2 separate regions of the Homo sapiens genome follow, and region 1 is linked to region 2. Evidence: promoter capture Hi-C in human tissues and cell types (Jung and others, 2019). All regions are on one chromosome and are shown on one strand. The core of a region is centred on a gene start or on the middle of the fragment in contact, and the rest is flanking DNA. Distances in the headings are between cores, read along the strand shown. Region 1 holds the start of ZNRF4 (zinc and ring finger 4). Region 2 holds the start of PLIN3 (perilipin 3).

Region 1 (3,576 bases), core at 611-3,110, 590 kb after region 2:
TGTGGCAGTAGACAGAGCAGGGGCAGGAGTGCCACCAGGGGCCGGGCATGGTGGCTCACAAATGTAACCCCAGCACTTTGGGAGGCTGAGACTGGCAGATCACTTGAGGTCAGGAGTTCGAGACAAGCCTGGGCAACCTAGCAAAACCCCCGTTTCTATTAAGATACAAAAATTAGCCGGGCATGGCAGCATGTGCTCGTGGCCTCAACTGATCTGCCCGCCTCGGGCTCCTAAAGTGCTAGGATTACGGACATGAGCCACCATGCCCGGCCTTTTCTCCCTTTCTTAGAAGGAAAACCTCTGCAAAGATCTTATTTCCAAATAAGGTCCATTCACAGGGGTTGGTCAGAACCAGGGGTTAGGGGTTCAACATCTCTATTTGGGGCCCACCCACTACATGGTACAAGAGATTTGTGTGGGAGGTGATCTCAGAAGCTGTGGGAGGGGAGAGAAGTGGGTGGGGAAGGGAAGGAGACAGTAGCGGGCTCATTGACAAGACAGTACTGGGTTCGTTGACTTATGGAGCTCATTCGACTGGGGACCTCTAGGAGATATGGTAGAACATACTTCGATTTGTCCCATAAGAGGGACGAGGGAGTGGGGGCATTTATCTACCACCTCCCATCTGTCACTGGCTGAGGGCTGCTCTGAGAGGTATTAGGCCAACACAGAAAATCTAAAGACTAAGTAGTCAGCCTGGCAAAGTGAAGTTGAGGAGCAAGAATTCTGTTCCAGGCAGAGGGAACAGCATTTGCAAAATTCTAGAGGTGAACAAAGCAAGATGCCTCTGGGACATTGCAAATCATCCAGGCTTCAGAGATTGGCAGGCGCCCAACCACAGGGGTGCATGTAGGCCACAGAGAAGAGTGTGGGCTTTATCTGGAGGGCAATGGGGAGCCATGGGAGAGTTTAGAGCATGGGAAAGACTATGTTACAGGTCTGGAAGCTGAGGCCCAGAGAGGCTAAGGAATTTAGCTGATGTCATACAGCTTATGAATGGCAGAGACAGAAATCCGACTTGAGTGGGCTGCAGACAGATTGAGGGTGTGAAATTTGGGGGATGGGGACTGGGGAGGAGGTGAGGCTGATGCCCAGGGCTGAAGCTCAGGCAGGGGGCACAGTTGGAGACCCAGCTGGAGAGGCAATGCTATAGGGAGAGAGAATGAAGCTGGTGCAAGCCTGGAGGCCAACCTGGCGGTGCGGACTTGGGACCACTGACCCCCACCAGCCCCACCCTGACCCTGGCACTTGACTCTCCCTCCAAATCAAGTCCAGGAGGGCTCTGAGGATATATGGACTCAGACCTGAGTCCGGATAAAAGAGCCAGCTACGGAGAGAAAGGGCTTTCCAGGCAGGAGGCCCAGCCCATGCAAAGGCCCTGGGGCAGGATCCTGCCTGGTGTGTTGGAGGAACAGCAAGGAGATCTGTGTGGCTGGAGCAGAGTGAGGGATGGTGACAGGGGGTCAGGAATTTGGGTTTTAAGCACTGATCTCATTGTAGGGGGGCGTGGCTTGAACAAGTCTGGGTCACTCTTGGAGTCTCAGACAAGGGTAACATTGAACCTTCTACAGTGTGTTGCTAGGAACCTCCAGAAGCTGATGCTGGTAGCGTCTTCGCACAGTGAGGGCTGAATCTGCACTGCTGGGGGCCGGCAGCCCTTTTGAAGCATCCCTGGGCCTCCTTGGGTCCAAAGATACCCTGAGCCTTCAAGAAGTTATCTCAAAGCTTGCCCGGGTACCGGCAAATCACAGACCTAGGAATGATCCATTGGCCACAGGCCCAGGCAGCTGGCAGCTCCTGGGACAGAATGTAGCAGGGCGATGTCACAGAAGCTGGGGGCATCTAGAACCCTGGTGACTCCTGGTCTCCATGTCATCTGCCAGAAAGGCCACCTGCGCCAGCACCTCCTGAGACCGGCCTTCAAAGACACGACGCATGCCGCTCTGCCGTCCGGAGCACTTAATGCCTAGAGCCAGCAGGGTCCCAGTGGCCGCGTCACTGCCTCTGAGCCACGCGGTCATTCCAACTCAACTGCCCTCGCGTCCTGGCCACAGGCCCCCTGGGAGACCCCGGAGATGCCCAAAGGCCTCATGCCTGCCGCCTCCAGTGGGACCTAGCAGCACACAGACAGCGAAGCGGGTGACCATGGGGTGGCCACGGCCGGGCCGAGCCCTCGTGGCAGTCAAAGCCTTGCTGGTCTTGTCGCTGCTCCAGGTGCCCGCGCAGGCAGTGGTACGGGCCGTGCTGGAAGACAACTCGAGCTCGGTGGACTTTGCGGATCTGCCGGCGCTGTTCGGCGTCCCCCTGGCCCCCGAGGGCATACGGGGCTACCTGATGGAGGTCAAGCCAGCCAACGCGTGCCATCCCATCGAGGCCCCGCGACTGGGCAACCGCTCTCTGGGCGCCATCGTGCTGATCCGCCGCTACGACTGCACCTTCGACCTCAAGGTGCTGAACGCCCAGCGCGCCGGCTTCGAGGCGGCCATCGTGCACAACGTCCACTCCGACGACCTCGTGAGCATGACCCACGTCTACGAGGACTTGAGGGGCCAGATCGCCATCCCCTCAGTGTTCGTGAGCGAGGCCGCCTCGCAGGACCTGCGGGTCATCCTGGGCTGCAACAAGTCGGCCCACGCGCTGCTCCTGCCCGACGACCCACCGTGCCACGACCTGGGCTGTCACCCCGTGCTGACCGTGTCCTGGGTGCTGGGCTGTACCCTGGCCCTGGTCGTATCAGCCTTCTTTGTCCTGAACCACCTGTGGCTCTGGGCCCAGGCCTGCTGCAGCCACAGACGGCCGGTGAAGACGTCTACCTGCCAGAAGGCCCAGGTCCGCACCTTCACGTGGCACAACGACCTGTGTGCCATCTGCCTGGATGAGTATGAGGAGGGCGACCAACTCAAGATCCTGCCCTGCTCCCACACCTACCACTGCAAATGCATTGACCCCTGGTTCTCCCAAGCCCCCCGGCGCTCCTGCCCCGTGTGCAAACAGTCGGTGGCCGCCACAGAAGACAGCTTTGACTCCACCACCTACAGCTTCAGGGACGAGGACCCCTCCCTACCGGGCCACCGGCCCCCCATCTGGGCCATTCAAGTCCAGCTACGCTCCCGGAGGCTGGAGCTGCTGGGCCGCGCCAGTCCCCACTGCCACTGCAGCACCACGTCCCTGGAGGCAGAGTATACCACTGTCTCCTCAGCCCCTCCTGAGGCCCCTGGTCAGTAAAGATCTAGGGCAGGGAGGGGGGTGCAATGAGGAATGTTTCTGGTCTGAAAAGAATAAAGTGGGTTTGAAAGCGGATTCTCAGCCTCGCTGCTGTTGGGCCACCCGCCTCTGACTGGGGTTGGGGGACACCCATCCCCATCAAGCCTAAGGCCAATCCCCGTTTCTGCGGGCGGGAGAGCGAGGGGTGGTGAGGGCTGGGGGGCCTTTTTGGGGCGGCTGTGACCGTGGTGCCGGAGTGGCTTTGAGACGGGTCGTCTGTGCTTTGGTTCCAGTCCCGGGCACACGGGTCACTCATCCTGGATGGCCTTATTCTTCATTCACATTTTTTCTTTTAAAATAAACGTTTTATTT
Region 2 (3,852 bases), core at 1,281-3,780:
AGCCAAGACTGCGCCACTACACTCCAGCCTGGGTGACAGAGGAAGACTCCATCTCAAAGAAAAAAGAAAAAGCCAGGCATGGTAGCTCACGCCTGTAATCCCAGCACTTTGGGAGGCTGAGGCGGGCAGATCACCTAAGGTCGGGAGTTTGAGACCAGCCTGACCAACATGGTGAAACCCCATCTCTACTAAAAATACAAAAATTAGCCGTGTATTTTGGCTGACACCTGTAGTCCCAGCTACACAGGAGGCTGAGGCAGGAGAATTGCTTGAACCTGGGAGGTGGAGGTTGCAGTGAGTCGAGATCGCACCACTGCACTCCAGCCCGGGTGACAGAGGGAGACTCCGTTTCAAAAAAAAAAAAACATGGGGCTAAAGGTCATGCCTGTCTTATGGGCTGCTTTCCTGGGGAATTCTGGTGTGAGCCTAAGAACCTGTGGCCTTGAGTCTGAGCATCTTTTCCCAGAGGAATGAGGCCCCACCTCCTGGTGGCCTTGCTTCGATGTCCCCTAAGCAGAACCCAGCAAAATGATGATGTTTTGCAAGCACTAGATCTGGAGTCCAGATTGGGTTCTTTCCATTTTTTTTTTTTTGTTTTTTTTTTTGAGACGGAGTCTCGCCCTGTCGCCCACGCTGGAGTGCAGTGGCGCGATCTCAGCTCACTGCAAGCTCTGCCTCCCCGGTTCACGCCATTCTCCTGCCTCAGCCTCCCGAGTAGCTGGGACCACAGGCGCCCGCCACCACGCCTGGCTAATTGTTTGTATTTTTAGTAGAGATGGGATTTCACCATGTTAGCCAGGATCGTCTCGATCTCCTGACCTCATGATCCGCCCGCCTCGGCCTCCGAAAATGCTGGGATTACAGGCGTGAGCCACCATGCCCGGCCTTTTTTTTTTTTTGAGACAGAGTCTTGCTCTGTCGCCCAGGCTGGAATGCAGTGGCGTGATCTCAGTTCAGTGTAACCTCCATCTCCCAGGTTCAAGCGATTCTCCTGCCTCAGCCTCCAGAGTATCTGGGAATACAGGTGCCCGCCACCACGTCCGGCTAATTTTTATATTTTTAGTAGAGGTGGGGTTTCACCATGTTGGCCAGGCTGTTCTCCAACTCCTGACCTCAAATGATCCGCCCACCTCAGCCTCCCAAAGTGCTGGGATTATAGGCGTGAGTCATCCTGCCCAGCCCAGAATGGGTTCTAATCCCAGCTTGGCAACTCACTAGGAATAGGAGTTTGGGAAGGCAGCATCCCCTAGGAGTCTTGCTTGCCACATCTGTGAAATGTGTATAAGTGTTTCACAAGAGCCTGGAGTCCCTGTGGACTGGAGGAGACGCTGCTCCGGGGAAGCTCAGATCCGTGCCCGGCACATAGTAAGTGCTCCATAAACTATCTCACCGCACTCTGGCTTCCACGGACAAAGGGGTAAAGCCAGCCAGGAACCAGCTTCCTGCTAGGTACAAAAGTCCCCCAACTGGGAAGTCAGGTGAGAAGACATACCTACCTCCCAGTGATCATTGCCTAAATCTGTGCTTCTCCTCACCTCCTTTGGAGCCTGAGCTCACCTGGGCAGGGGGCCAGGTAGGCAGGCATCAAACTCCTGGCCTCGACCGATTCTCAAGTCCCACTTAGGACTCAGGCAGCTTCCTCCCGTCCCCTCTGTCCACCATGACTTCCTGGAACTGGTTTAAGCAAGGGTGGCCATGGCAGATGTCAACACCCTATGAAACCCCTGGGGGTCAGTGACCTGCCTTGCCGCTGGCTCCAGAAGGGGAGCTCCAGGCCAGACCCAGCCATCCAGCAACTTCAGAGCATGCTAAGACTGGACTTCCAAAATTCCAAGGGCCCCAGGTCCCACTGCCAGGCCTAGCCGGGACAAGAACCCCAAAGCAGTTAACGGATAGGCCTTCCTACTTTTAAGCCACCTCGTCGCCACGCCCACCCGAGGGAAGTGGGCAGGCTTTGCCCAAGACCTCCCCAGAATCAGTTGGGGGCGCCAGGAGCTGGGGCAACCCCCACCCCCACCCGTGGCAAAACCATCTGTAGGGGAGGGGGCTTTGCGGTGGCGGGGGGTGTCTCTGAAAACCCCAGAAGGGAGGGCGGAGATTCTGCCCGCAGGAGGAAACTTGCCTGCAAATGGCGTTTCCAAAAGCAAACTGTTCAAAATTTAGAGAAAACCTGGTGGGCGGGGGGCGGTATTTAGCCCACCCCCTTCAATATCACCCCTTCTACGGGGCTCTTTCGCCCCTCAAAAGTCCCAGGAAGTGAGAAGAGGGTTTCAAAGTCTGAGCTTCGTTGCAGAAGTTGGATTTTTCTGGGGGGAGGGGTGACCAGCCTGGGCTGAAGACCCCTCCCCAGGCCGCAGAGTCCAGCAAATCCCACCCCGAGAAAGGCCCTCCCCGACCCCTCCGGCCCCTGGGGTGCCCCAGGACTCCATGGACACCGCCCCCCAGCTCAACTGAGACGCCCCCGCCACTCACCGCGGTCAACCGGACGTCCCAGGAACAGCTGCCGCGACTTCAAAACCAGCTTGGAAACCGTCCGGGCCGAGGCGGGGGTGGCTTTTACTGCGTGGTAGGTTGGGGGCGCACTGGAGTGACGGGCGAGGGGACCAATCAGGTTGAGGGATTGCCCGCGCCAGGCCCGCCCCTCTCCTCCCTGCCCCGCCTCCACTAGGCCCCGCCCCTCGCCAAGTCATGAAGTCCGGGAAGGACTCCACGCCCTGCCCCTGAAGGGGAGGGAGCACTCTTGGACCACGCCTGTCCCAGCCACGGGACCCCCGCTCCGCAGCTGGGGACCCTGTGAAGTTGGCCCTGGGAGGTGAGTGCGATCGGGGGCGCCGCACAGGTGCTGGGATTCCCCAGGTCGCCCATTTCCCCTATGGCCAAACTGAGGCTGCGAGAACCCTGGGAGAGTTGCAGGGTGACCCTCGCCAGCGCGTCAGGGGCCACGCCCTCCACCATGGGCTCCGACTCAGCTATATGTACACACACACACACACACACACACACACACTTTTTTTTTTTTTTTGAGACACAGTCTCGCTCTGTCGCTAAGGCTGGAGTGCAGTGACGCGACCTTGGCTCACTGCAGCCTCCACCTCCTGGATTCAAGCGATTCTCCTGCCTCAGCCTCCTGAGTAGCTGGGATTACAGACACGTGCCACCACGCCCGGCTAATTTTTTGTATTTTTAGCAGAGACGGGGTTTCACCATGTTGGTCTTGAACTCCTGACCTCAAGTGATCTGCCCGCTTGGGCCTCCCAAATTGCTGGGATCACAGGTATGAGCCACCGCACCCGGCCCAACCCAGCTATATGAGTGACTTGAACCACCACGGGAACTTGTCCAGCCTCCGGCCTGATCTGCCCAACATCAGACCACTTCATCCTCCCAGCACTGTATTGTCTTTTTAATCATCCCTATTTTGCAGAGAAGGAAACTGAGGCCTGGAGAGGGTCAGCCAGGGGCAATGGAGGGGTCAGGCTCCAGGCTCTGTGACTGCTGGATCAACCTTTTCCTGAAGCTGCCCCCACTTGGATTTTACCCCGCCCCTCTCCACCTCCCAAATTATTTATCCTCTTGGTCTATAAACCAAGGTCTCAATCTCAGATGGTCCAGGGAGGAGGTGAATATTTCTGCTGAGGAGGTGGCAGTGATGCCCTGCTTAGAGGGGCAGGGGAGAGCAGTGCCCTATGGGAGACCCACCTGGAGAGTCACAGATCCACAGGAAGTTCAAGCTGTAGACATGTCCTGCCTGTTAGGGAACAATTGGACCAAATGAAACCCAACTGGGGCTTTGTCCAGCCCAGGGGCCACCAGTTTGCCACCTCTGCCAAATTATTTGAATAGAATGAAGCT

The links. The method cuts DNA at HindIII sites, captures the fragments that hold promoters and counts their contacts. A contact is called where the count stands out against the background at its distance.
Region 1: a contact is called between the fragment with the promoter of ZNRF4 here and the fragment with the promoter of PLIN3 in region 2, in 4 of the 25 tissues and cell types used here (IMR-90 fibroblasts, dorsolateral prefrontal cortex, heart right ventricle and 1 more).

Annotation. Positions count from the first base shown.
Region 1 is chr19:5,453,557-5,457,132 of GRCh38, forward strand. ZNRF4 (zinc and ring finger 4) reads left to right here and starts at 1,861. Exons shown (of 1, transcript NM_181710.4): 1 at 1,861-3,300. The coding sequence starts at 1,936. The coding sequence ends at 3,225. The HindIII fragment of the contact is 14,927 bases long and covers 607-3,576 here.
Region 2 is chr19:4,865,137-4,868,988 of GRCh38, forward strand. It overlaps PLIN3 (perilipin 3), which reads right to left and starts at 2,531. Exons shown (of 8, transcript NM_005817.5): 1 at 2,473-2,531. RefSeq lists enhancers at 1,499-1,848, 1,791-2,291 and a silencer at 2,509-2,688. The HindIII fragment of the contact is 15,856 bases long and covers 1-3,852 here.